7 separate regions of the Homo sapiens genome follow, and regions 1, 2, 3, 4, 6 and 7 are each linked to region 5. The links are contacts of gene promoters, found by promoter capture Hi-C in blood cells and fetal thymus (Javierre and others, 2016). All regions are on one chromosome and are shown on one strand. Each heading gives the region's core, a stretch centred on a gene start or on the middle of the fragment in contact. The rest is flanking DNA. Distances are from core to core; before and after follow the strand shown. Region 1 has its middle 100 kb from the start of RIPOR2. Region 2 has its middle 130 kb from the start of CARMIL1. Region 3 has its middle 160 kb from the start of RIPOR2. Region 4 has its middle 120 kb from the start of RIPOR2. Region 5 holds the start of KIAA0319. Region 6 has its middle 140 kb from the start of RIPOR2. Region 7 overlaps LOC105374981 (a long non-coding RNA gene).

The links. The method cuts DNA at HindIII sites, captures the fragments that hold promoters and counts their contacts. A CHiCAGO score of 5 or more calls a contact.
Region 1: a fragment that was not itself captured here is called in contact with the fragment with the promoter of KIAA0319 in region 5 in 2 of 17 cell types (neutrophils and total B cells); the score reaches 7.2 in neutrophils.
Region 2: a contact is called between a fragment that was not itself captured here and the fragment with the promoter of KIAA0319 in region 5, in 7 of 17 cell types (neutrophils, naive B cells, non-activated CD4 T cells and 4 more). The highest score is 10.0, in neutrophils.
Region 3: a contact is called between a fragment that was not itself captured here and the fragment with the promoter of KIAA0319 in region 5, in 5 of 17 cell types (neutrophils, non-activated CD4 T cells, naive B cells and 2 more). The highest score is 9.8, in neutrophils.
Region 4: a contact is called between a fragment that was not itself captured here and the fragment with the promoter of KIAA0319 in region 5, in 1 of 17 cell types (neutrophils). The highest score is 7.5, in neutrophils.
Region 6: a fragment that was not itself captured here is called in contact with the fragment with the promoter of KIAA0319 in region 5 in 9 of 17 cell types (neutrophils, total B cells, naive B cells and 6 more); the score reaches 17.3 in neutrophils.
Region 7: a fragment that was not itself captured here is called in contact with the fragment with the promoter of KIAA0319 in region 5 in 1 of 17 cell types (neutrophils); the score reaches 5.1 in neutrophils.

Annotation. Positions count from the first base shown.
Region 1 is chr6:25,036,180-25,040,343 of GRCh38, reverse strand. It overlaps a transcript of RIPOR2 not described here. Among named protein-coding and RNA genes, the nearest start is that of RIPOR2, 100 kb to the right of the region's middle. The HindIII fragment of the contact is 927 bases long and covers 2,149-3,075 here.
Region 2 is chr6:25,144,119-25,148,396 of GRCh38, reverse strand. No RefSeq gene overlaps it. Among named protein-coding and RNA genes, the nearest start is that of CARMIL1, 130 kb to the left of the region's middle. The HindIII fragment of the contact is 1,781 bases long and covers 1,456-3,236 here.
Region 3 is chr6:25,093,014-25,096,902 of GRCh38, reverse strand. It overlaps the pseudogene CMAHP. Among named protein-coding and RNA genes, the nearest start is that of RIPOR2, 160 kb to the right of the region's middle. The HindIII fragment of the contact is 608 bases long and covers 1,762-2,369 here.
Region 4 is chr6:25,053,795-25,057,753 of GRCh38, reverse strand. No RefSeq gene overlaps it. Among named protein-coding and RNA genes, the nearest start is that of RIPOR2, 120 kb to the right of the region's middle. RefSeq lists enhancers at 1,169-1,228, 1,369-1,498, 3,479-3,648. The HindIII fragment of the contact is 4,254 bases long and covers 322-3,959 here.
Region 5 is chr6:24,643,811-24,647,573 of GRCh38, reverse strand. KIAA0319 reads left to right here and starts at 1,383. Exons shown (of 21, transcript NM_014809.4): 1 at 1,383-1,838. RefSeq lists a silencer at 1,329-1,538. The HindIII fragment of the contact is 1,579 bases long and covers 608-2,186 here.
Region 6 is chr6:25,075,693-25,079,762 of GRCh38, reverse strand. No RefSeq gene overlaps it. Among named protein-coding and RNA genes, the nearest start is that of RIPOR2, 140 kb to the right of the region's middle. The HindIII fragment of the contact is 1,647 bases long and covers 1,991-3,637 here.
Region 7 is chr6:24,939,622-24,943,907 of GRCh38, reverse strand. The region is part of intron 2 of LOC105374981 (a long non-coding RNA gene); the gene reads right to left. It also overlaps a transcript of RIPOR2 not described here. Among named protein-coding and RNA genes, the nearest start is that of RIPOR2, 5.8 kb to the right of the region's middle. The HindIII fragment of the contact is 3,876 bases long and covers 125-4,000 here.

The sequences.
Region 1 (4,164 bases), core at 1,363-3,862, 390 kb before region 5:
AGGAGTTGAAGAGCAGCCTGGCCAACATGGTAAAACCCCATCTCTACTAAAAATACAAAAATTAGCCAGGCGTGGTGGTGGGCACCTGTAATCCCAACTACTCAAGAGGCTGAGACTGGAGAATCGCTTGAACCCAAGAGGCGGAGATTGCAGTGAGCGGAGATTGTGCCATTGTACTCCAGCCTGGGCGATGAGCGAAACTCCATCTAAAAAAAAAAAAAAAGTAGAAGTCTATCACACAGTGTTCTTTATGCCTAGATGCCTAGTTATATGTTGGCAACTCTTCCTTATGTGTTAAAAGCCCCTGGTATAGACAATTAAATTAAGATGAATGAGTGGCTTAGGAACATGTATCCAAAATAGTCACAGTCTACTAGTTTCGGAGGCAAGCTGAGCTGGTTGGATTCCAAATGACAATTCAAAGACAAGCAAACAATTTGCATCAAGCAAAATACTTCTTTTTCTTTGATATAATTGAAGAAGCCATCAGTTTTCTCTGGGCCTTTACCTTCTTGATCATGTTTCTTTTACTTGCGCGTACCTTAAATTTAAATTCCAGTTTTTATGAAACTTCATTCTATATCTGTAGGAAATTAGTTGTGATCCTAAGTTTTAATCCAATACCTCCGTTATGGAATCCGTCACTGAGAAAAGCTGGATTATGGATCTGCATGGTTTCACTAGTATGGATGGGAAGTCGGCCTATACTCTTAAAATAAGAGTTATCAGAAAAGCCTGCTTTACTACAGAAATTTCACTTAAATTTTGAGACTAACATCTGAATACTGTGCTGATTTCTGCATGGTTTTAATATGAAATGATATATTAATAGATGTTGAATGTAAGCTCAACATTAAGCAGGCTGGTCCTGACCTCTTTGGCATAATGCCTAAGGAGGGAATTCTGATATTCTTCCAGGATGGTCAAGAGCCCTGCTGCATGAGAGTCAGTGTGAGTTAGAAACAGGAACAGGATCAAGTGACATTTTTGGAGGGTTGCATTTTCCAACTCACAAAAGACCTGTGCATGTTTGCAGGCAGCGAATCAGAGAAAGTGGAAAGGGAGAAAGAGTGAAGACACCTGCGAGGGAAGGACGCTTATCACTGCAAATGTCAGCCTGCAAGGGTGGCCCTCAACAATATTTTGCAGCTGCTAAAATCTGCTTTGATAACGTTTCCTGTCTTCTTTCTCTGAAGCTTTTCTCATAGGTCAGCGTTTCCTCCAACTTGGGGACTCAAGTTATATAATCCTTTGGGGTTATTTTGTCATTAAGAAAAATAAATTAGTAAACCCCTTTTCTTTAAATACACAGAGGGACCTTGAATGGCGATAGGAGGGACATGTGCCACCACTGTCCATTTCCATGCCCATGCAGACATTGGTAATCAACCACAGCTCTCTCCTTTTTCCCCACGGGGGCCAGGCCCTGGCTTGGAATCCTTTCTAATATAGTGCCTTAAGCTGCCATGTCTAATCAATTAGAATTGCCTCACTGGTTGAAATTTATGTTTGTTTTCTAGTGCTTTGTAACAAATTACCACAAGTTTATTGCCTTAAAACAACATACATTTTTTATCTCACAGCTTCCATGGGCATGAATTAGCTGGATTCTCTGCTCAGGGTCTCCCAAGGCTGCAATGAAGGTGTTCTCTGGGGCTGCAATCTCATCTAAGGCTCAGGGTCTCCTTCCAAGCTCAATGGTTGTGGGCAGAATTTAGTTCCTTGCAGTTGTAGGCCTGAGGCCTTCAGCAACTAAAGGCCACCCATTGTTCTCTGCCACATGACCCTCTCCATAACATGGTAGTTTGCTTCCTCAAGGCCAACAAGGGTCTTTTGCTGCTTATAGACTCTTCTTTAAAGGGCTCACCTGATTAGGTCAGGCCCACCCAGGATAATCTCTCTTTTGATTAGTTAAAAATTGACTGATCAAGGACTTTAATTACATTTGAAAAATCCCTCATTTTTGCCATATAACATAATCTAATCACAGAAGTAAAATCTCATCATATTTATACCCAAGGTTCAAGAACTATACAGAACCTGTATGCCAAGGGGCAAGAATCGTGGGGCCATCTTCAAATTCTGCTTACTACAAAACCTAATTGTCATCTTTGCAATAGAACTTCGATTTTGAGCTACTGGAAAGCTTTAGGTTTTTTGTTTGCTCATTTGTTTGTTTTTGTTTTACTTTTTATTATGAGAATTTTCAAACATTCAGTAAAGTTGAGAAAATAGTATAATGAATCTTATATATCTATCACCTAAATTTAACAATTATTAACATTTTGCCATATTTGCTTCATCTAATTTCCTGTTGAAACATTTAAAAATAAATCAGACATTATGACATTTTAGTAAGAGCGTCTCTAAAAAATAAGTACATTTTTCTACATAACTGCGTAATAAAATTAACAATGATCCCCACATATTATTTAATACCCGGACCATATTCAAATCTCCCCAGGTGAGAACAAATCCTTAATAAGCTCTGCATGCCTGTAACCCTTAGTAAAATACCTGGTACCTCATCTACTCAATAACCGTTTGGGTTCCATCAAAATTAAACTCATAGTAAAGCAATGGATCCCAAAGTTCATCTTCCCTAAGCCTTCCTCACTTCTTCCTTTCACCCCCAGAATCTGTAATGAAATATTTATTTTCTTTTCTAGTCCATAGCAGTGTAGTAAAAAAATAATAATAATAATCAAACCAAGGTATGAGAACGGTAATATGTTACCCTTCTTAGGGATATTTGAATTTTAAAAGAGGCCAAAGGTCACTACAAAGACACACATGTGTGATACTGAGCAGACATTCGGGAGAAGGACCTATCTGGTGTCCTGTAAACCCTGTCAAGCTGCTTACCTGTGACCTGCCCAGGTAAAGAGGAGTATAGACACAGCAACAGCCCGTGGGTGCCTGGGCCTTCTACATGATGACAGCAGGGTCAGGGCAGGGCACGGGAATGAGGGGTGGGCACAGATAACTGAATGCCCCGAGAGCCTTTCTTTCCTTTAGTCTGCCACAGTTGGGGTGGGCGATTAAAGGAAAGAAACCCTGAAAAGTATATAAGCTTTGACAACCAGGAGATTTGGCTTCAAATCCTGCTTCTACAACTTCTTAGCTGTTGGCCTGTGGGCAATTTATTCCACCTCCCTGAATGCCCACTTCCTCAACCTTAAAATGCTTATTACAGTAACACCCACCTCCCATTGTTATTGGAGGGGATTAAAAGACATAAAATATGTCAAGTGCCTAGCACAGTTCCTGGCAATGTAGCTATTGGGAGCTGAGGGCCTAAAAATGGTAATAGTGGCATTTGAGGCAGTATGAAGGGCTTACCATTGCCACCTCCACATTTTTTCCCAAAATAATGGGAGACATGTCATACTGGAGAAGGCATCCCCATCTTCCTCAGCCAGGCACCCTACCCTCACATTCAGCTGGCTTACACCACACCACACAGGAGGCAACACAGATACACTAGGGAAAAACTGATCTTGGCCCCTAGGGGTGTGACTCCTGTTCTTCTGGGAAAATGGAGTGTTTGCCCCCACAGAGGATCTCCAGGCTATTTTCAGTACAAGTAAATGCAACCAGATGACAGAGCCCACTTGGAACTTGTTTCGCCTCTTTAAAAAGTTGAACTCTAGCCTAGCGTGGTGGCTTACACCTGTAATTCCAATGCTTTGGGAGGCTGAGGTGGGAGGATCACTCGAGGCCAGGAATTAGAGACCAGCCTGGCAACATAGCAAGATCCTGTCTCTATAAACATTTTTTTTTAAGTTAGTGGGCATGGTGGTGTGTGCCTGTAAACCCAGCTACTCAGGAGGCTGAGGCAGGAGGATTGATTGAACTTAGGAACTGGAGGTTACACTGAGCTATGATCATGCCACTGCACTCCAGCCTAGGTGACAGCGCAAATGCTGTCTCAAAAAACAAAACAAAACAAAACAAAAACCCGTTGAACTCTGTTAGGTAGAGCTTTGATGGAGGCAGCCACTGGTTAGCACTTTTTGTGGACTCCAATCAGAGGAATGGAAATGAGTTTTCTCTGTCCCACTGAAAAGACAACAGTGACAAAGCTGATATGCACTTGAGATTAGGGAATCTGCTGTCTCAGAGATACCACTGGCGACTTCCTCCCAGTGTCAATGTGACTTA
Region 2 (4,278 bases), core at 1,097-3,596, 500 kb before region 5:
GTGTTGCTCTAGGAATTTGCCCACATTACCTAAATTATCTAATTTGTTGGCATATATTTATTCATAGTATTTACTTATAGTCCTTTTAATATTTGTAGGATTAATGGTAATATCTCCTCTTTCATTCCGGATTTTTTTGTAATCTGTGCTTTATCTCTTTATCTTGTTCAATCTACCTGAAGGTTTGCCAATTTTGCTGATCTTTTCAAAGAACCATTTTTTGATTTTACTGATTTTCTATTTTTTTTGTTTTTTCTACTTCTTTTATTTTTACCCTGTTATTATTTTCTTATTCTACTTGTTTTGGGTTTTGTTTGCTTTTCCTTTTCTAGATCTGAAGTTGAAGTCTTAAGATTATTAAGATCGTTCTTCTTTTCTATTATAGCCATTTAAAGCTACAAATTTGCCCCATGTCTTGCTTTAATTGCATCCTACATATGTGCTCCTTTCTGATTAAAACTCTCTCCTTAAAGATATATAGTACCCTGACTCTTGTAATATTTTTCTCATTTTCTGAAACAATACACTTTAGTTTTCTTGTTAGGGAACTTTATTTAAATGGAGTCACGTTGCCTCTGTGTGTGTGTGTTTTGTTCTTTTTATCCAATATTATTTCTGGGCATTGGTGCACGTTGTTACAAGTAGTCTTAATTGGTTTATTTGTCTTTTTGTGTTCCACAGAATGCTACTTTACTGTTATAGCGTATAATTTACATAACATATAAATACATAATTTATCATTTCATTGTTGATGAACATTTGCATTGTTTCCAATGTAATATACTCAAATGTAATATGAATAATGCTGTGATGTACATTCTTGTACATGTATCTTGAAGAACATATGCACATATTTCTCCAGTGTTGAGACTTAGCTAAGAGTAGGATTGTTAGGTGACAGTATATGTGTATTCTCTGTTTTAGTGTAGAATGCCACACTATTTTTCAATGAGATTGAACCTCACTACATTGTCATTAGTAACATATGAGAGTTTCCATACTCCTATTATCAACATTTAGTACTTGCAGTTGTTTTAATTTTAGTTGTTCTGGTAAGTATAGTGGTACTTCATTGTGGTTTTTATTTTCACTTCCCCATTGCTAGTGAGGCTGAGCTCTGTTTATACAGTTAGTCACAATTTGGATATTCTATTTTATGAAGTACCTATTCAAACCTTTTTGCCCATTTTTCTTATAGATTGTCTTTTTCTTATTGATTTATAGACATTCTTCTATATTCTGCATAGAAATCCTTTGTCATATTTATGTTGCAAATTTTCATTATGTGTCTTACCTTTTTACTCTTTTATTGTGTTTTGGGGTGTATATGTTCTTTTGGTGTAATCTAAAATTGCAATAATTTTCCTTTTGGGTAGAGCTTTTTGTGTTTTGTTGAAAAAAATCCACCGTGTCCCAAGATTATAAAAAATTTCTCCTAAATACCTTCCAAAAGCTTGATTGTTTATCTTTTAAATGTAAGTCTTTTAACTTGTCTGAAATTGATTTTTATCTATGGAATAAGGAAAGAGTCCAATCTATTTTTCCAATATGGGATCCCAGTTACCCCAGCAAGTTTAGTGGAAACATTTATCCTTTCCCTAGTGATCTACAGTGTCACTTATCAAGTGTTGGTGTATATGTGGACTTGTTTCCAGGCCTCTATCCTGTTCCCTTGATTATTTTATCTACCACTGAGCCAACACTATATGATCTTAATTATTATAGCTTACAATAAGTCTTGATATTTGCTAGGACAAATCCTCTCTCATCTCCCACCTTGTTCTTCTTGAAGAATGTTTTTTCTCTTTTTGGCCCTTGGCATATCTTAATAAATTTTAGAGTAAGTTTTTAAGCTGTAAAAAAAAAAAAAAAATTCTGGGGGTTTTATTGAGACTATAGTAAATCTACAGATAAATTTGGAGTAAATTGATTATCTTCATAATATTGAGCTTCCTATCTATGAACATAATATAACTCTTCGTTTATAGATACACTTAATATCTCTCAATAGAGTTTTATAATTTTCTCCAAAGAGATCATCTTTTGTTAAATGTATTTCTTGATATTTCATTTTTTATGCTATCTTTTAATTTTTATTTATTTATTTATTTTTTGAGATGGAGTTTCTCTCTTGTTGCCCAGGCTGGAGTGCAATGGCACGATCTCGGCTCACTGCAATCTCTGCCTCCCGGGTTCAAGCAATTCTCCTGCCTCAGCCTCCTGAGCAGCTGGGATTACAGGCATGTGCCACTACACCCGGCTAATCTTGTATTTTTTGTAGAGACGGGGTTTCACCATGTTGGCCAGGCTGGTCTCGAACTCCTGACCTCAGGTGATCCACCTCAGCCTTTTCTGCTATCTTAAATGATATATTTTTAAATTCAATTTTTGTATTTTTTATTGCTGATGTGAGAATAAATTGATTTCTTAAACTATTGATTATATATCTAACAGCTGTACTAAACTCTCAGAGTCTTATAATTTATATGTGGGTTCTTCTGAATGTTTATGTATACAGTCAGTTCTAAGTATCTTCAAAAATGATTTTTTTTCTTTCCACTCCTTATGTGTTTGACTTTTTTTTTTCTTGCCTTAATGTGCTGAGTAGCTTATTCAGGTCTCTTTACTTTTACCTAATGTCTTTTTCTGTTTCAGGGTTACATCTAAGATACCACATCACATTAGCTAAGGAGCTATCATGTCTCCTTAGGCTTCTCTTGGCTGTAATATTTACTTAGATTTTTCTTGTTTTGGATGACCTTGAGTTTCAAGGAGTACAGACCATGTATTTTATAGGTTACCTCTCTACTGGAATTTATCTGATTTTTTTTCTCATGGTTAGACTGGGATTATGGGTTTGCAGGAGGAAGACCACATCATATTAAAGTTACATTCTAACATAATTTATCACCGTTGATATTGACGGATTGTCACATTTCCTTACTGTTAAAGTTACTCTTTTTTTCATCATTTCCATACTGTACTCTTTGAAAGGAAGTCTCTATGAAAGGAAGTCTCTATGTGCAGCCCACATTTAAGAATTGATTATTTCAGATTTTCTACATAGGCAATCATGTTATCTGTGAACAAAAACAGTTTTACTTCTTTCTTCCCAATTTGTATACCACTTATTTATTTATTTGCCCTATTTTATTGTCTAGAACTTTCAATGCAATGTAGAAAAGCAGTGGTGAGAGACGACATCCTTGCCTTGTCCTTATCTTAGTAAGAAAGCTTCTACTTTCTCATTTTTTGTAGATGTTTTAATTAATTAATTAATTAATTTATTTATTTATTTAAGATACAGGGTCTTGCTCTGTCTCCCAGGCTGGAGTCCAGTGGTGTGATCATAGGTCACCCCAGCTTTGAACTGGGGGCTCAAGTGATACTTACATATTGGCCTACCAAGTAGCTAGGGCTATAGATGCATACTGCCATGCCTGGCTAATTTTTTTTTTTTTTTTTTGAGATGGAGTCTCACTCTGTCACCCAGGCTGAAGTGCAGTGCCATGAGCTCAGCTCACTGCAACCTCCGCCTCCTGGGTTCAAGCAGTTCTCCTATTTCAGCCTCCCAAGTAGCTGGGATTACAGGCGTAGGCCACCATGCCTGGCTAATTGTTGTATTTTAGTAGAGACGGGGTTTCACCATGTTGGCCAGGCTGGTCTTGAACTCCTGACCTCAGGCGATCCACCTGCCTCAGCCTCCCAAAGTGCTGGGATTACAGGCATAAGCCACCGCACCTGGCGCTTTTTTATTTTTATTTTTTAGCAATGGGGTTTTGCTATGTTGACCAGGCTGGTCTTAACCTCCTGGCCTCAAGTAATCCTTCTGTGTTGACCCCCAAAAACACTTAGATTAATGGGTATGGGCTGCTGTGCCCAGCTGTAAATGTTCTCTATCAAGCTGAAGAAGTTTCACTGTATTTCTAGTGTGCTGAGAGTTTTTATCATGAATGAGTGTTGGATTTTATCAAATGCATGTGATCATGTGACTTTTCTTCTTTAGCCTATTGATTTGATACATTATATTAGTGACTTTTGAATGTTGAACCAGCCTTACATGCCTGGAATAAATCCCATTTGGTCATAGCATATAATTCTTTTTATCCATTGCTATATCTGATAATATTTTGTTGAGTATTTTTGCATCTATGTTCATGAAAGAAATTAGCCTGTAGTTTTTTTTTCTTGTTATAACTTTGTCTGATTTTGGTATTAGGGTTATGGGCTCATAGAATGAGTCAGGAAATATTCCCTCTGTTTCTGTCTTCTGGAAGA
Region 3 (3,889 bases), core at 816-3,315, 450 kb before region 5:
GGAGTCTCACTCTGTTGCCTAGGCTGGAGTGCAGTGGAGCGATCTTGGCTCACTGCAACCTCCACCTCCCAGGTTCAAGCGATTCTCCTGCCTCAGCCTCCTGACGAACTGGGATTACAGGCACATGCCACCATGCCCGGCTAATTTTTGTATTTTTAGTAGAGACGGGGTTTCACCATGTTGGTTAGGCTGGTCTTGAACTCCTGACCTCATGATCTGCCCACCTCCACCTCCCAAAGGACTGAGATTACAGGCGTGAGCCACTGCGCCTGGCCTACCTCACTTTTTAAAAATGGAAGTCTTCCCATTTAAATAAAATGAACTATCCAATAAGTATGTCACAAATCTAGGGGAAAAAAAGACTGAATTTTTTCCTAATCTTTTCATCCTATATAACAGTGACTCAAATGTTTTCATCATCTCAGAACCTTACTAGCGAGTAAACAGTGAAGAATCTTTTATTAAGGTCCATTGATACAGCTCAAAAATAAATTATTTTATGAAAGTAAAAAGCAATAAGAAAATTAGTTTTCATATCAGTGCAAATATTACCCAATTTCCCATTCCACAGATAGTACATTTGAACAAGTAACAATAACACACTGGAAATGCAATCCAAGAAAAGTTAACATGATGCCACAAAGCTATATTTTTGAATACTACTCTAAGCCAAATGAAACCATCATGGGCTATTTGGAAATGGACTAACATTTTGGAGAGTGGTACATGCAATTACCAAAAGCTCACCCTCTCCCAGCCTTACCTCTGCAAAGTCAGTATGAATGATAAATCAGCTCATTCTGTCTTTTGCTAACTTCCCATATTAAACGAGTTATCAAATCTGGTCAATTCTCCTTCATAAAGCACTCACAAATCCATCACTCGTCTCCAGCCTCTTCTGCCCTGGCCTTAATTCTGCCTCTCAAAATTTCTCACTTAGACTCCTGCAGTGCCCCCCAACTTGTATCTGTGCCTCCCCCACAACTTCCCTTGATCCATCTTTCATGCCAGTGTCTTCAATCTGCTGGTCACAATCCATTGGCAAGTCACAAAATTAATGCCATTGCTCACAGCCAATGTTTTAAACATGAAATAGAATAGAATAAAATGGAATAGGATAGAAAATACCTGAGTACATTGCATGTAACAAGGGTATTATTTCATGAAACTTCCGTTTCATAGGTACCCTTGGTAGGGGGACTCCAGGGTCCTAATGTAAAATGTAGTCTTTACTGGGATGATAGGCAAAATGTTTGAAAGCCCCTGCTCTTCATTGCTGACAAAGTAACCTTTCTAAAATGCAAACATTCTTGTTTAAAATTCTGTAGGATATCCTTAGTGCCTCCAGGATAAAAGTGTTTTTAATTTTATTTTCCAGGTCTAAAGGTTTTTAATTATTCCAGTTCTTAGCAAGGTATTCAAGAGCCTTCGTCATTTTACATTTGCCTAACTCTCCAAAAATCTTCTCTTTCGATTGCCCCAGCAGTTTTCAAGCTTTAATGAACATAGGAATAATTGAAGAGACTCACATAAATCCAGATCCCTGGACTCCCTTCCCCCACAGATCCTGATTCAGTAGATCTGAGGTAGAGCCCAGGAATCTGCATTTGTATTCTTGTGCCTCACCAAAGCATTCTGGGTGACTAGAAAGTCAACACCGTTGGGTCTTAGAGCTAAGACGAAGTATAGAGGACACACAGAGACCAAGTGCTCTAACTGCCTTGCAAGGGGAAGAGGAAAAAATTGTGACCAAGGAAAGCTTAATCTGGATCTTTGGCATTTAGAGATGAGGAGGATGTCACGAGTAAGTAGAGAGGAGAAAGAGATTCTAGTCAGAAACAATGGCATGTGCTGGAGAAGGCAAGTGTATAATGGGTTTGGTGAATGCGGATACTTTGAATGAGGGCATAAATATATGTGATTCATTCAGAAATGATTTATTGAACTCCTTCTGTGTGCAAGTCATCATCCCAGATACAGAGGATACAGCTGTGAAGAGGCTTTTGCCCTCATGAAGCCATCTGTCTTCCTAAGTAGAGGGCTTGTGAGTGAAAGCAGAGGAAAAGGGTGAGATAGGCGGCAGCCAGGCTCGGAGAAAGGCCCCAGAAGCCAGTGCAGGGAATTTGTCCTGTGAGTGAGGGGAGCTGCAGAAAGTTATAAAGCAAAGAAGGGACATTGCTGAGTTTTTATTTAGAAAAACCATTTCAGCTTTGCAGAGAATGGACTGGGGAACAGGTAGAACCACTGGAGTAAGGGAGAGTGGTTGGGAGGGTGTGGCTTTCTATAGAAAGAGATTAGTGAAGCTCTACACTGAGGCAAGGCAAGGAGTTGCAGAAGAAGATTTGAGATACATTTAGAAGGAAGAAGCTTTAGGATTTGGTAAATTTTTTTTTTTTTTTTTTTTTTTTTTTTTTACAGAAACCAGTACATCTGTAGCTTTGGGCATATAAAAGTATAGTTTTGAGAAGAAGGTCAGCTACTGCCACGTCTTTATGAGATGGGCACCTATTTCCCTCCTTATATTTTCTTTATCCAGATCACATCCTATTCCATTCTTGGGATTTAAAATTCCATGTTTTATGCAAGGATACATCTTCACATGGGATGGACAGAATTCTAGGATTGTCAGAGAACTCTACCACATTACTGGCTGGGTTTAAGGATAAAAACTGGCATCTGTCTATTGGCTGTGCTTTGATTAGGACAGCAAGAGCACCATATATTAGAGACACAAAGTTCTGGGAATTTCTTAAAGATAGGCTAAAGTCATCCATATATCCAACAAATATTTATTGAGCACCTCCTATGGGTTCAGTCATGGTTGCTACTTTCACCAAACTTATATTCTAATTGGGGTGGGGAGGCACGAATGTGCAGGCATCCACAAAATCATGGCCAGATTATAAGCAACATTTCTGTAATTTACTTGTTTGAACAAAGAGGCCCAAATTAGTGGTTTTCACACGTTTTTTTCTAGACATAGACTTCTTTCTTTGAATGAAATCTGACTTAGAAACCTATCACACTAGACAATAGGAGCTGCTCTGATTTAGGCAATGGTGGGACCACTGAGGCACTTTTGTGGGACGCCTTGTGAATTATCTGAGGGGTCTCAAAGCTGCTAGTCTGGTTGACTTTTGCTACTTAAGTACTAACTTTTGCCTTCATTACTTGTTACTTTCTTTCACTGTTCTCACACCTTTGTGTCTTTAAGCAAGGGCATCATAGAGCCTCCAGAGGGGACAAAAATTTACAAGGATTCCTGGGATTTTGAACCTTATTTGGAAATCTTGAATGCTGCTCTAGGAGATGAAATATTTCTTCACTCATCCTGGATAAAAGAATACTTCACTTGGGCTGGATTTAAAGATTACAACCTTGTGGTCAGGGTATGCTATTGTTTGTCTTTGCTTTCTTGTATAATGGAAATACATGAACACCCCTTTGTTTTCCAATAAGCATTTATTAAGTCCTATCAACTGCCTAACAGAGAACAGATTTCACAATTGATCAGCAATCTCTTGTTGAATATTTAGAGAATGTACTGAAGTCCCTAAGTTTTTCTTTTGGAACATCTTTTATCTGCTATCACCACGTGTTTTTTGTTGTTTGTGTTTGTGAGTGTTTTTGGCATGGCAGGAACAGCTATTTAAACTGTGGGGCTAGAAGGTAGGATCCACCCAAAGAGGTAATCGCCCGGAGCAAGGTGAGGTAGAAGCAGGTAACCCTTGTCTGCAGCTATGCTGAGGCTGAATTGCACAAATTAAGAATTAGGCCTAGGTCTGCAGCTTAATCTAGCCCTGACACATACATACAGAGCCACAAGCTAAGAAAGAGTTCATGTTGTAACCTAGTCACCAAAACTGGACAGATCTCCAAAAGCAAACTA
Region 4 (3,959 bases), core at 1,199-3,698, 410 kb before region 5:
TCTTTCTCACTAAGCCTGGATGAGGTCTCAGAATTCCTTTCAAGGCAGCATTCCAGGAAGCCATTATTAGGCTGTTGATGATGGCATCCTATGTATAGGATCCATCTGTGTGAGGCTGTGATTTTTGTTGTAAATTACAGAATCCTCTGGCTAGTGTATGCAAAAGGAGAGGTATAAAGGGCTACTAATAGCTCCAAAAAATCATTGGGAGGGTTGAAGGTACACAATCTAGACTGAACCTCTCAAAAGAACCGGTCTACTAAGGGAGCTGTTGCCAGCAGGGCCCCGGAAGCACCAGGCCTCTGCCATGATCAGGAAGCTTCTGGGTCCGTAGCTGCCCTGCCCCTGCTGGCTATTGCCACTATGCTTGTCAGAAGGTCCCCTCTCCCTGCACAAGGCCAACAGCTGACTTTTCTCACTCGCTCCTTCCAAGACTCACATCACTGCATCTGCTTAGCAGTGCCTAAGTCACATGAGGAGCTTGAGCTGCAAGTGAGTGTGGAGAATGAGTTTCCCCTACTACAGGGCAGGAAGACGCACGAGAAGAGGGAATGGAATTGGGCAAGCCAGTCTGTAGTTCTGCTTCACCATCTTGAGATGAATCTATGGCATTAGATATAGAAAAGAAGCATGGGAAAATTGGAAAGCACTGTAAGATATAAACATGGGAATTTGGCAATGTTCATCCAATGCTATCCAGGAGAGATGTCCCAGTGAGACAAATGTGCAGTCCTCTCCACAAGTAAGCCCTAAAAAGAGGAGAAGGAAACTTTGGGCCATTATAACTTGATGTAGAGTGATCAATTGTCCCAGTTTGCCTAGGACTGAGGGGTTTCCTGGAATGACTAGGAAAGTCTTGGGCAGACCAGGACAAACTGGTTACCCTAAGTCAATGACAAGAACCATCAGCATCCAACAACTAGACTTGGTTCAGATTCCACTCTCACTAAGCACATTTTGGATTGTGATTTGGACTTCCAGGTGTGTGGGAGATAATGCCTCAAAAACCTTTAGCACAAAGTCTGGTGTATAGTAAGCACTCAATAAATGCTTATATTTTTGTATTTTTAAAAGTTTGTTTCATTTTAAAATACGTTGGCCAGTTAACTGAAATGTTTAATTTTTCTTGGTAGTTTTTCTTCCTTTTTTACACGCCAGCATATTTTCTTTCGGATGTGGGTGTACATTGTTCTGTTGAGATTTTGCTTAGTTCGCGAGGTAGTTCCTGGTGATAGGTCTTGTCTTGGTGCCTTGGGTCGTAGGCACACTCTGGACCACACCTTAGAGTGTGAAGTCTCCATTAAGGCTTTCTCCCCTCTCTGAGGCTCTAAGTGGCAGCTACTGTTCTCTTCGGATATCACCTTACTTTGATCCATTTCCATGGCAACACCCTGTGGTATGAATGAGTATCTACCATACTTCCTGCTCAAGCCAGCTGTGGTGAAGGGAGGAAGCCTGAGAACTGTGGTCTCCTGAAGAGGAAGGGCACCCAAGTGGTGAAGGAGGCCCACGATGCCAAGGCTAGCTTCTCTTTCTTTACTGCAACTAGAAAGGCTGTGCTTCCTCCAGCAGTGGCCTCCCCTCAGGCCTGCCTTTGGGAACAGGCTGCACCCTCTGTTCCCAACCTTCCCTCCTTCTTTCATCCCATTCATAACGGTATGTCGTCTTCCCTCACAGCCTTTGCTCTTGTGTGTCTTTGGCCAAGAATGCCCTTCTCTTCACTCCTCTCCACTCCTGGATTCATTCCCCATCTTTCAAAGTATCGCTCAAACGCCACCTCCTCCCCAAACCTGCCTTGAGTTTCCTCCTCCTGTCAGAATTGGTTCTCCATCTTCTGGGTGCCTAAATGACTTACTGCTGCTGCTCTGACACCAATCACATTGTATCTGGTAGTATAGTGACAAGTTGTCTCTCCGTATCTGTGGGGAATCAGTTCTAGACCCCTGAGGACACCAAAATCCTCAGATGCTCAATCCCTGATATAAACTAGTGTAGTATTTGCATGTAACCTGCGCACAACCTACCATATACTTTAAATATCTCTTGATTGCTAATAATACCTAATACATATAAATGCTGTGTCCTTATACTGTATTGCTTTTCAATTTGTATTATTTTTATTGTGGTTTTATTATTTTTTATTTTTTCAAACCTTTTTTTTTTTTTTTTTTTTTGAGACGGAGTCTCACTCTTCCGCCCAGCCGGACTGCAGTGGTGCGATCTCGGCTCACTGCAAGCTCCGCCTCCCGGGTTCATGCCTTTCTCCTGCCTCAGCCTCCCGAGTAGCTGGGACTACAGGCGCCCGCCACCGCGCTCAGCTAATTTTTTGTATTTTTAGTAGAGATGGGGTTTCACCGTATTAGCCAGGATGGTCTCGATTTCCTGACCTCATTATCCGCCCACCTCGGCCTCCCAAAGTGCTGGGATTACAGGCGTGAGCCACCACGCCCAGCCTTTTCAAATATTTTTAACTGAGGTTGGTTGAATCCTAGTATGCAGAAGTCACAGATATGGAGGGCCACCTGTATTGTGTATCTTCTACATTCTCCATTGGATTTTAAGCTCCCAGGATAAAGGGTATCATTCATCTTTGTATGCCCAGTGCCTACTACATTTTTAAAAAGTGAATTGAATTAACCTCATAAGGAAGAAACCTTTAGACTTCTTGGACAATTTTCCTCAAGTAGGCTGGACACTCTCATGAGTCAAGGTGCCTTGGCAGAGATGTCAAGGAGAAAAGACCCCTTATTGTTCCTTTCTTTATCTCCCTTCAATTGCTTCCTCCTCCATCCTAAAAATGTATAAGAATAGATGTTACTCTAATCAGATGTCCCTTTGGGAACAAGCTGCATGAAACTTTTGAGAATCTCTGGTTTCATAGCACAAGTTTTAAAAGATGGTCTTTGTTATGCTGGTTGCTCACACATAAAATACAATGTTTAAAACATTGGTGAAAAACACATATATTTTATAACTGGGAAGTCTGGTTTGCAATGGTTTGTGAATATGGAAAGAGCCCTGAGCTATGAGTCAGAACTATTAATAATGCCTTAGGAACTAACTAGCTTTGTGGCTGTTGACAAGACATTTCTCCTCCTGAGGCTCTGTTCCCTCTACCATGAAACGAAGGTATGGGGCAGTGATGTCTGAGGTCTCATTGGCTCTGAAGTTCTGGGAGATTCTGATTTCATGGTTTACTTATAGGTAAAAAGAAGAGAAGCTGCCTTCGGGTGGTGGAGTCTTTAACCCACTTCTCTTCTGCCGAGACTGAAAAGGATCCAAATCTCATGGCATTAAGGTCAAAGAAAAAGTGACTTTTTAAAACTAAGTATAATAAGGAAATATTTCTCCTCTACATCTAGATATTTCTCCAGAGGGAGCTCACCACAAAAGTTAAACAGATCACTACTTTAAAAATGTTTTTCTGTTTAAATCAGGGCTGTTCCGTTGGGGCTGATTTAATCAAGAGAGAAAACAGACCTCTCTCTTGTCTCTACTCTGACTCATAAAGGCAACTCTGCTCCACTGATGTCAATTGGTCACTATTTGCATAATAAGTTATTCTAAAAGTTAAAATATCAGGCCCTTAATCACAGAAGAAAGGAAGACTTTTCAGTGAGGCCTTCCAGTGATTGCAGATTTAGAGGGCTCTTGGGACAGCCACTGGGTGGCTAAATTAGTAAGTTGACACCTAGTTACTGTTGATAGGAACAGGAAGCAGGGAAATTCTGCGCAGAAGAGGGCAGTTCCCTGGGTAGGTCCCCACTCTCAAGCTGAAACTCTTGATACTGCAGCCCAAAGTGAGAACTTACATCCCTGCTTTCCTGCTCAAATGTTGCCCTTTCCAAAACCACCCATAACCCACCCTGCCCCTCATTCTGTGCCCATAAAAACCCCAGGCTTGGCCAGCAGAGAAAGGAGAAGCAGCTGGACAACGAGGACTATGGTTGGAAGTTGGA
Region 5 (3,763 bases), core at 134-2,633:
TTTGCTTCTGACTTTGTCCTCTCAGCCTGATCATTGATCATTGGCAGTACTAACTTTTCCAAGTCCAAGCTGATTTTCACTCTTTGAGTCCTGGACAGGTTTTTACTCTTTAGTTTTTATTTATTTATTTATTTATTTATTTATTTATTTATTTATTTATTTATTTATTTTGAGACGGAGTCTTGCTCTGTCGCCCAGGCTGGAGTGCAGTGGCACGATCTCGGCTCACTGCAACCTCCGCCTCCTGGATTCAAGCGATTCTCCTGCCTCAGCCTCTCAAGTAGCTGGAACTACAGGCGCGGGCCACCACTCCCGGTTAATTTTTTGTATTTTTAGTAGAGACGGGGGTTTCACCGTGTTAGCCAGAATGGTCTCGATCTCCTGACCTCGTGATCCGCCCGCCTCGGCCTGCCAAAGTGCTAGGATTACAGGCGTGAGCCACCGCACCCAGCTGGTTTTTACTCTTTAAATGTGCATTATCTTATTTGATTCCCAGAATCATCCTATATGAATGCTATTATCTTCATTTTATAATTGAGGAAACAGGTTTATCTAGATTAGGTAACTTGTCTGAGGCTCTTCGGTAAATACGAGTAGCCAAGAAGCTTATTCATCAACAGTGTGTGACTCAGCCCTAAGCACTGCACTTATACCTCCTAGTAATGAGATGTGCGAGGAATGCCCTGGCTACCTTTTCTGCTCATGATATTATCCCTAGATGCTTTCGCATCTTTATTAAAACAGTAAAAATGCAAGAGTCTTCCACCCAAGTTTTCTGTGGTTTAGATTATCACGTTCCTCAAGATGCAAATGTCAAACTATACTGGGCATCCAGTTAACCTGCAAGGCCTGGAGGTGATGGGAGCCCCTCCTAGCACAGGTTCCCAGTCTCAGTCAGAAAGCACCTGCTCAAAATAGAAAGATAATTACAGAGTAGGGGCCAAAGAGACTCCCACTGGAAGAATGGAACTTGTGTAGCTGGGGTGACACAAGCTGGGGACAAGCTGGGGGACACATTCGCGAAGGGTGTTTGACCCAGGCAGTGCACCCACGGCTCCCTTGAGCCACCCTGGCCCGGGTGTTTATTTGGAAGGAGTGTTCATCCCCCAGACTGTTTAGGGCCACGGTGACAGGGAAGGGCTTGGTGAAGGAAAGCAGGTAGGGTATGAAGGCCGCTCAGGTTCACGAAAGACTTTTGCTTGGTCCCCTGCGGGGTGGGAGTGTGTCGCCCCGGTGCGGGTACTTAGAGCGCAACCGGGGAGCTGAGCAGGGGAGCTGAGCAGGGGAGCTGGGCAGGGGCGGCTGCCGCGCCCCACATCCCTGAGGGCGTGTGTGCGCGTGCGCGCGCGTCGCCGTGGTAACCGCGGCGGCGGAAAGGCGCTGAATCACTGGCGCGCGCTTTCCCCGAGCCTGCAGAAGCTGCCGCGGGCGGTGGGCGGGGATCCCCCGGGGGTGCAACCTTGCTCCACCTGTGCTGCCCTCGGCGGGCCTGGCTGGCCCCGCGCAGAGCGGCGGCGGCGCTCGCTGTCACTGCCGGAGGTGAGAGCGCAGCAGTAGCTTCAGCCTGTCTTGGGCTTGGTCCAGATTCGCTCCTCTGGGGCTACGTCCCGGGGAAGAGGAAGCGAGGATTTTGCTGGGGTGGGGCTGTACCTCTTAACAGCAGGTGCGCGCGCGAGGGTGTGAACGTGTGTGTGTGTGTGTGTGTGTGTGTGTGTGTGTGTGTGTGTGTGTGTAAGACCTGCGATGACGACGAGGAGGAACAAGTGGGACGGCGAGTGATGCTCAGGGCCAGCAGCAACGCATGGGGCGAGCTTCAGTGTCGCCAGCAGTGACCACAGGTACGGTATCTACTTCCCAGAGCGCCTGGCCGAGAAATAGGAAAGAGGGCAGCCAGTAGGCAGGCCAATACCCAACAAAAGTAGAATCGAGACGCCCTGAGTTCAGAAGGTGAGTTTCTTAAGATTCTTCTGGGCATTCAGGAAAGGGCATTTTTTGATTGCTGCACTGATTGTTGACTAGTAGGGTGGAGTCGGGGAAATTTGAGTGTCTTTTCCCAACCTCACGAATTGCATTTTTTTAGAAGTAAGGAATCGTTTTCTTTAAACTTCATTCAGAACTATTTATGTGATCTTTCCTATTATTTGCTAAATGCATTTTGTCTCTGTTCCTTACCATAACCTGAAGCTTAAAATCTTTCTCTTCTTCCCTTTGAATTCCCTCCAAGGAATGTCACAAATTAATCGGGAGGATAAACCTGAAATTTTGAGAGTTATCATCTTAAGGTCATTTGTTAATTAAATACAAGGAGGAAAAATATGATATACATACTCATGTGCACTTTTATTGCTGGTTTGTTCATCAAAACATTTTTGTTTGTCGGTGAAATGTTAGTATTTTTTCCACTGCTTGAATTGAAAAGTTGAATGATGTTTTTGATAGTAACAGAAAAAATAAATTGTAGACAATGTTCCCCCCCACACACAAGAATTTTGGAAGTAAATGTTGGTATTTATTTCTTTATTCCTGAAATACATGCTCACTTTCCAAATGCTTCAATTTATTATAAGAAGACCACAATTGTAGAGACTACTAAAGTTATGCCAAATCTAAACTTTTATTTTGTGCTTTTTTTAGTATTATTTTTAATTCAGATGAGGAAAACTGGAGGTGTCAGTTCAGTTATAGACGTAGGAGTCACAGAGAAAGGTGAATTCCTCTGTAATTTGAAAAAGGGAAATGTAAACATATTACCTAAGTACTCTGATTTATTTGTATTAACCATTTGTAATGCATTTGCATTTGTAATGCAAAATGCCGAGGCAAGAACTTAATTTTTGTTTCGAAATAATGAAAATAATTCAGCCAAAATCTTTATGAATTAAAAATAGCCAAAAGAGAGCTTTGGTAATGTATGAATGTAAAAGAATAGAGTTGCTGTTAAATTTTCTTGACTTTTTTTTTTTCCCTAGCCAATAGATAGGAAGCATTCTCTTTAAATAAATACAGTAAGTCCTCACTTAACATTCTTGATACGTTCTTGGAAACTGTGAACCTTTAAGCACAACGAGGTATAAGGAAACCAATTTTACCACAGGCTAATTGATATAAACAAGAGTTAAGTTCCTACAGCATATTTCTGGTCATAAAAAAATCACCAAACTTCTAAATAAAGACCACAACACTTCTAATATTAAACATAGAAATAAATGGGATCTATACATACAGTTAAGAAGGATTAGTAAAAACAAGATCATTATTTACCCAATTATTACAGTTCAAGGTCATGGGTAGCCAGAGTCTCCCTGGTTCAGAGTGGGAACCCCCCCCTCTCCCCTGTCCAGGAAGCTATCCCATCACAGGGTGCACTTTCACAGACACACCCACTCACTCAGACGGGGACCATGTAGACATATGCACAGCTTTGGGATGTGAAGGAAACCGAAGCCCAGAGAAAACCCACGCAGACATGAGGAGAATGAGCAGACTCCACATAGACAGTGGCCCTGGCCAGGAATTTTTTTGTCACCAACGTTGAATGAAACTATGTTATTGAGGCACTGCTGTATGTAGAGCCAGGTATGCCCGTTTCTGGAACGGAGTGCTGCAGATTGCCAGGTCAGAGGGTGTGGGTTTGGGCGTGGCTCTGCCACTTAGTGGCTGTCTCACATTTGGCAAATTCTCTAAACCCTCTAAGGCTCAGTTTCCTCACCTGTAAAATAGAGATAACAATGGGACCTACTTAACGAAATTCCTGTAAGAATTA
Region 6 (4,070 bases), core at 1,565-4,064, 430 kb before region 5:
AGGAGACCAGCCATCAACACTTCTTTGCAATATAATGAAAATTCTAGTCAGTGCAATAAGGCAAGAAATATGAAGTGTAATTATTAGAAGAAATAGATTAGTTGCAGAGAATATTCTTGTGAACACAGAAAATTCAAAACATTCTACAGATAAGTAGAAATAATGTTTAGCAAGGTTTCTGATATAAGGTCAATATACAGAAAAAAACTAATATTTATCAGTGATCCACAGAAAATAAAATTTTAAAGATACCTTTTATAACAGCATCAAAATATCAAATACCTAGGAATAAATCTAATAAAGTATGTGCACTATCTCTAAACAAAAGCTACAAAACAATATTCAGATAAAACCTAAATATCAAAGACGTAATAGAGGGACATGTCATGCTAATGAACTGGAAGACTCAATTTTTTTTTTTTTTTTTTTTTTTGAGACAGAGTCTTGCTCTGCCACCCAGGCTGGAATACAGTGGCCCGATCTCAGCTCTCTGCAACTTCCACCTCCAGGCTTCAAGCAATTCTCCTGCCTCAGCCTCCTGAGTAGCTGGGATTACAGGTGCCTGCCACCACACCCAGATAATTTTTGTATATTTAATAGAGATGGGGTTTCACCATGTTGGCAAAGCTGGTCTCGAACTCTTGACCTCAGGTGATCCGCCCATCTTGGCCTCCCAAAGTGCTGGGATTACAGGTGTGGGCCATCATGCCCTGCCAAGACTCAATATTTTTTAAAGTCAAATTTACCCAACAACTTTTAAGCCTTTCAACAGGTATTTGTTTTATGGAAATTAAGAGGCAGTTTCTAAAATTTACATAGCAATAGAAAATTTCAGGAGTAACCAAGGCACTCTTTAAAGAAGATGAGGAATAAGGAGGATAGGAAGAACGAGAGAAGGAGGTGGAGAGGGAGGAGTAGAAGAAGATGGTATGTGTTCTACAGGATAACAAACTTATAGTAATTTGACAGTAGGGTAGTGGCTCAAGGGAGACAAATAGATCAATATAACATAATGGAAAGCACAAAAACTCAGGCAAACATGGAGACTTACTTTCAGACGAAGATGGTACTGCAGATCAGTGGAGAAGGTGCAGTCTTTTAAATAAATATGCTAGTTGAATTGGATATCATATGCTGGGAGCCTTGACCCCTATGTTATAACAGAAACAAGGAATCAGTGTGAGGTGAATTATAGATCTAAATGTGAAAAGCAAAACAATAAAACTTCTACATGATGATATATGGAAATATCTTTGTGACCTTGCTGACAAGATTTCTTAAACAGAACACAAACAAGCACTAACCATCAAGAGAAAAAAAATGAACAATTAGACTACAGTAAATATAAACTCTATTCATGGCTCACAGCTGTTTACCCAAGAGAAATGGAAATATGTTCACAAAAAACTTAATGTTTGCAGCAGCTTGATTCAGAATTACTCCTAAACTGGAAACAATTCAAATACCTGTCAACTGGCACATGGCTAAACAAAAGGTAGTGCATCTATACAATGACATACTATTTCATAATTAAAAGGAATAAACTGTTGACACATGCAACATGAATGAATCTTGAATGCGTTACAGCACATGAAAGAAGCCAGACTCAAAATACAAATATATAGATGGAGAACAAATCAATGGTTGCCAGAGTGTAGTGGGAGGGAGAGGCAGTTACTATGAAGGAGCAGCATGAGTAAAATTTTGCAGGGGATGGAACCGTTCTGTATCTTGATGGTGGTGGAGGATACACAACTCTATGCATTTGACAAAACTCATAGCACTGTACATCTAAAAGCGTAAATTTTATGATATGTAAATCTCAAAATAACCTATTAAGCTCTTAATAACCTATTCATAAGCTACTATTAACCTATTCACTAAGAATGATATTAAGGGAATAAAAAGGTAAGCCACAGAGGGGCTCTTACAAATTTAAAAGACCAATAATATAGTAATAGAAAATTTTGAACCACTCACAAAAGAAGCTTTGAAAAGATGCTCAAATTAATTACTCACTGGGGAAAGGCAAATTAAAATTCCGCTGAGACACCACTACCCATCTACCAGAATGGCTAACATGAAAAAGGCAACTTCAAGTGTCACTGAGGATGTGGAGCCATAGGAAGTCTCATACTCTGCTGGTGGGAGTATAAATTAGTACAATCCCTTTGGTTAATCATTAGGCACCCCTAAAGTGAACATACGTGTAATCTATGACTCCATAATCCCCTTCGTCAGTATATACCCAACAAAAATGTACACATGTATTCACAAAAACACATGTTATCTGTAAGAATGTTCATAGCATCCCTTTTTCTAATAGGAACCTGGAAGCACCCCCAAATACCCGTCAGGAGAAGATTAAATTGTGGTATATTCATACCATGGAATTCTCCACTGAAGCAATTCTTTTTTTTTTTTTTTTTTTTGAGATGGAGTCTCACTCTGTTGCCCAGGCTGGAGTGCAGTGGCCTAATCTCGGCTCACTGCAAGCTCCGCCTCCTGGGCTCAAGTGATTCTCCTGCCTCAGCCTCCTGAGTAGCTGGGATTATAAGCACCCGCCACCATGCCCGGCTTTTGTATTTTTAGTAGACACAGGGTTTCACCATGTTGGTCAGGCTGGTCTCAAACTCCTGACCTTGTGATCCACCCACCTTGGCCCCTCAAAGTGCTGGGATTACAGGTGTGAGCCACCGCACCCAGCCTGAAGCAATTCTTTAAAGTGATGATCACAGACCCATGGAGGTCCCAAGACCCTTTTGCAAAGTCCTTGAGGTCAGAACTATTTTCAAAATAATACTAAATTTTTTTGCCATTTCCTCCACTTGTTGACCCTTACATTGTAGTGTGTATAAGTACTGACACCTTATTCTGGACGGAGGTAGAGGCATCAAACCATGCTGTCATTGTATTAGGTGCTTACAGTTAAAAAAAAAAAAAGTTTGTTTTATTTAACATCCATGATGTTGCAAGAAAAAGCACTGATTTTTCCGGGCGTGGTGGCTCACACCTGTAATCCCAGCACTTTGGGAGGCTGAGGCGGGTGGATCAGGAGGTCAGGAGATCGAGGCCATCCTGGCTAACATGGTGAAACCCCGTCTCTACTAAAAATACAAAACATTAGCTGGGCATGGTGGTGGGTGCCTGTAGTCCCAGCTACTCAGGAGGCTGAGGCAGGAGAATGGCCTGAACCCTGGAGGCAGAGCTTGCAGTGAGCCGAGACCGCGCCACTGCACTCCAGCCTGGGGGACAGAGCGAGACTATGTCTAAAAAAAAAAAAAAAAAAAAAAAGAGAAAGCACTGATTTTATTAAGTGTATAAATTTAGTAAGAATCTTGAGTACATGTTTTATAGGAAGAGTGAGCACAGCACTTCTGCTCCATACTCAAGTGTGACGGCTGTCCCGAGGGAAGGAGCCTACGTTATTGAGCCATGAACTACACTGGCCATCTTTTTTCATGGAACACAGTTTTGCTTTGAAAGAAAAACTGACACAAAAAAACTAACGAAGCATGGTGGTGCAGGCCTGTAATCCTAGCTACTCGGGAGGCTGAGATGAGAGGATCACTTGAACCCAGGAGTTAAGAGAAAATTAAGGAAATACAAATGGCCAATGAATAAATGAAAAGAAGCTTAATTTACTAATATGATGCACTGAGATAAATGTACAAGAGAGGGCACTGGCAAAATTATGTATCATTTTAGAGCTTAGAAGAAATAAGCATCTATCAATTAGGAAATAAATATATTACAGTAAATCACATTATATTAATATGTAGTGGTTAAAAACAATGAGGTAGCTCTATGTTTATTGATCCAGAAAGACGTACAATGCACATTTAAAAAGAACTAAGTTATAAAAATATCACTTATGTTTAAATAGCACTTTACAGGCACAACTTGTTTTATTATGCTTTATTGTACTTCACAGATATTACATTTTGTGTGTGTGTGTGAATTGAAGGTTTGTGGCAACTGTGCACTGAACAAGTTTATCAAGCCATTTTCCCAGCACCAGGGGCTCACTTCATGTCTCTGTGTTACATTTTGATAATTCTCATATTTCA
Region 7 (4,286 bases), core at 813-3,312, 300 kb before region 5:
AACTCTAAATCAGATTAAATAAAAAGGCTTGTGAGTGAAGTCTTCCAGAGAACCACCAGACAGGTCAAATAGTGACAGTTTTGGGGGAATGGGACTTTGGGGGGAATGGGACTTTGAAGAAGCTTTATCTCCATTCTGCAACCATTCCAATAGCTGCCAGGCTGTTGATTTTCACTGTGATTGCAGGCTGCTGATTTTCAAGGCTACCACAGAGATAAGGTGAAGTGTGTGGAAGCTGGTAAATTAAAATGCCATAAAACTCATTGTTCTATTGAAATTCAGCCATTTTTCTTGAATAAATGCTCCTGGATTGCTGTAAGCCTTTGGTTAATTTCCAGCCTTCTGCAAAAGTCGATACTGGCCATTTTCCCAGTTTCTTATTGCTTTTATGGAAGAAAGGCTTTATTATTATTATTATTATACTTTAAGTTTTAGGGTACATGTGCACAACATGCAGGTTAGTCACATACGTATGCATGTGCCATGTTGGTGTGCTGCACCCAATAACTCGTCATTTAACATTAGGTGTATCTCCTAATGCTATCCCTCCCTGCTCCCCCTACCCCACAACAGGCCCCAGTGTGTGATGTTCCCCTTCCTGTGTCCAAGTGTTCTCATTGTTCAGTTCCCACCTATGAGTGAGAACATGCAGTATTTGATTTTTTGTCCTTGCGATAATTTACTGAGAATGATGGTTTCCAGCTTCATCCATGTCCCTACAAAGGACATGAACTCATCATTTTCTATGGCTGCATAGTATTCTATGGTGTATATGTGCCACATTTTCTTAATCCAATCTATCATTGTGGGACATTTGGCTTGGTTCCAGGTCTTTGGTACTGTGAATAGTGCTGCAGTAAACATATGTGTGCATGTGTCTTTATAGCAGCATGATTTATATCATTCAGGACATAGGCATGGGCAAGGACTTCATGTCTAAAACACCAAAAGCAATGGCAACAAAAGCCAAATTTGACAAATGGGATCTAATTAAACTAAAGAGCTTCTGCACAGCAAAAGAAACTACCATCAGAGTGAACAGGCAACCTACAGAATGGGAGAAAATGTTTGCAACCTACTCATCTGACAGAAGGCTAATATCCAGAATCTACAATGAACTCAAACAAATTTACAAGAAAAAAACAAACAACCCCATCAAAAAGTGGGCAAAGGATATGAACAGACACTTCTCAAAAGAAGACATTTATATAGCCAAAAGACATATGAAAAAATGCTCATCATCACTGGCCATCAGAGAAATGCAAATCAAAACCACAATGAGATACCATCTCACACCAGTCAGAATGGCAATCATTAAAAAGTCAGGAAACAACAGGTGCTGGAGAGGATGTGGAGAAATAGGAGCACTTTTACACTGTTGGTGGGACTATAAACTAGTTCAACCATTGTGGAAGTCAGTGTGGCGATTCCTCAGGGATCTAGAACTAGAAATACAATTTGACCCAGCAATTGCATTACTGGGTATATACCCAAAGAAAGGCTTTTTAAAGGTCTTTATGTCAGCGTTTTCTCTAATATCCAATCTCTTTTAATTTTTTGTCAATCGTATGTCAAATATCATGTAATAAATTATTATTTAAAAATACATTTCTTGATCCCATAGTATCAACTCGGTAAGATCTTCCTTCAGTTCCTTGAAAACAAATAATTAGAAAGTTTGTGATTTACCAAAGGATCAAGTACTAGTCATTAAATAAAATTCATTTTTTCAATAACAATATTTTATATTGTCTCTTATTTTGCCACCCAGTGACTTATGTGCTATCAAGCAATCTTTCATTATAAGATTTAGGGTGCACAAAATGCATGCCTTTCTTTAAAAGTTGAGAAAGTTATATCTTCTCATCTTGCCTTCTTTGGCTGTCTTGGGTCTGGGGTCACATTCTGGGAGGAAGGATTGTAATTCTCCTTAAACTTTCCCCACATCTCTCACAGACATGGAAGACTGTTCCTTTCTGTCTTCTTAAAGTTTATTTTCCTGTGTATCTTTTCTCCACCCCTTCTGTCACTTTCTGTAGCTCCCACACCAAGAAATTTGTCTTGAGGTTAAAAAAAGGGGAGGAGGGGCAGACTGTACAGTGATCCCTGAAAATGCTTTTAAAGTCAATGGTAGGGCCACAGGAAAGGATTCCCATCTCAGTTAATGTTGCCAAACCCTGAGAGGTAAATTTTATTATCAGTAGCAGCTACAGGATTTCTTTATTGGAGAGGCTTTGTGATTACATTCTGGTTGAGACAGAGGGTAAGGCCAGGGACTAGGGACTGGGTCTTGAAGTTGTGTTTGCATTGATAGCACAATGTATTAATATAGATTGTATTTTAATTTGGGACAATTAGTGGGAAAGGGCTGAACTGTCCCTTAACTCAGTAATTGATTATTATTATTCCATTTTACTGATTCAAAGTGAAATTATTAACTCTAGTCAAAGAGCTAGATAGTAACGAAGCCAAGATTGTAACTCAGCCCTGTCAAATCCCAGAACCAGTGCCTTTATATGCTTTTTTTTTTTTCTGTTTCTAGTTGCAAGCTAACCACTCCCAGCAGTCATACCTTTAACCCATAGTTATGACCTTGCCAACCATACCCAATGTGAGTCTTGCCATAGAACTCTCGTTTGCTGGGTTCTTCTCCTTCTTTCGTAAGTGGAAGGAATGGATTCCCTCAGCGGGCAATTACCGTCATTGTCTTTAGTCCCATTGAAGGAAACAGTCCTGGACTTTGGTCAGGCTTCCCCAGCACCTTCAGTAAGTGACTCTAAGTGTGGCTCCTGCAGCCTAATGATGCGCCTGAAACTGGGGGAGGCAGGCAGGAAGACTTCTAAAGGCTCTGGGAGGGTTTTCCTCATGAGACAACCCTCATGAGATTGTACCCATGAGATTGGTACCTCCTCTTTGCAACATGAAAACAAGAATACTATTAAAAATCATGTTCCAGCCAGGCGCAGTGGCTCACGCCTGTAATCCCAGCCCTTTGGGAGGCCAAGGCGGGCAGATCACTTTAGGTCAGGAGTTCAAAATCAGCCTGACCAACATGGTGAAACCTCGTCTCTACTAAAAATACACAAACAATTAGCTGGGCATGGTGGCGCACACCTGTAGTCCCAGCTAGTCTACTGGGGAAGCTGAGGCAGGAGAATCACTTGAACCCGGGAGGTGGAGGTTGCAGTGAGCCAAGGTCGAGCCACTGCACGCCAGCCTGAGCGACAGAGACAGACTCTGTTTCAAAAAAAAAAAATCGTATTCCTTTTGTCCCAGCTCTTTAGACATGGCATTTTACAGTTAGACAAATTAGACAAATTTTTAGGTGCATCTTTACTGGCAAAGTTACCCAAAGATAAGATTATTTCTGACTCTGTGGTTTTTTTCACCTTTTTCTTTTCTGATTCCTACCACTCCTCACAGTTTCAATTCCTCTCTCCTACTTTGTTCTCCTTTCTGTTTCGAACATTTTGCTCCTAATTAGTTCAGGTTTTTCTCCCTGTTCAGAAGTTTGTATATCTGAAAATTAAGTATTTTAAAACACTTTCTGAAAGGAGTGGGAAATTCTCCAGAAGCACAGAGAGAAGATTGTGAGGCTCTTCTGTTGGAATAAAAGCCCACGTTGGATGTTGAAATTTTTCCACTAGTATGGTTTCCTCCTGTACACGCTTCACAGGTGGTATTTTTTTTCAAAACAGCAAACTATGCAGAAATATTTTAAATTAATAAATTATTAATTATTATAGCCTCAATTCTCATAACTCAAAATAATAATACTGTGTTGATATTCATATGTTCAACACAACACATGCCTTCTCACTTATATATTTACTTAAATATTTCACACCATACCTGAAATATAGTAGGTATTCATTACTATTCTCCAAATGAATGAAGTGAGTAAAGTTCCACAAAGCAAGGACCAGACCTTTCATATCATTGTAATTCACAGACCTAGTATGGCATAAAGTGGGCACCAACTCTTTGGAGTATAAAAGCTTTGCTATGTTCCTGTGCTTATGACCTTGATGAAATTCTGCTGTTAAATTTAGTACAGGTTGTCACAAATCACCATTTGATCAAAGTAGTTGCCTTATACTGGTTCATCTATACTTTTGTTCTCTTCCCCAAATCCAATTATTGGAGCTGTTTGCCTCAATCACTGAAAAGCAAGATTCTTTCATTGTTGTTTCAGACTTACTCCTCATTTCTTAGTGAAAACTACTCTCTGTGACCTACATCTCCCTTAACTAAGCACTGAATTTCCCTATCTTTAGTCTTTCTTT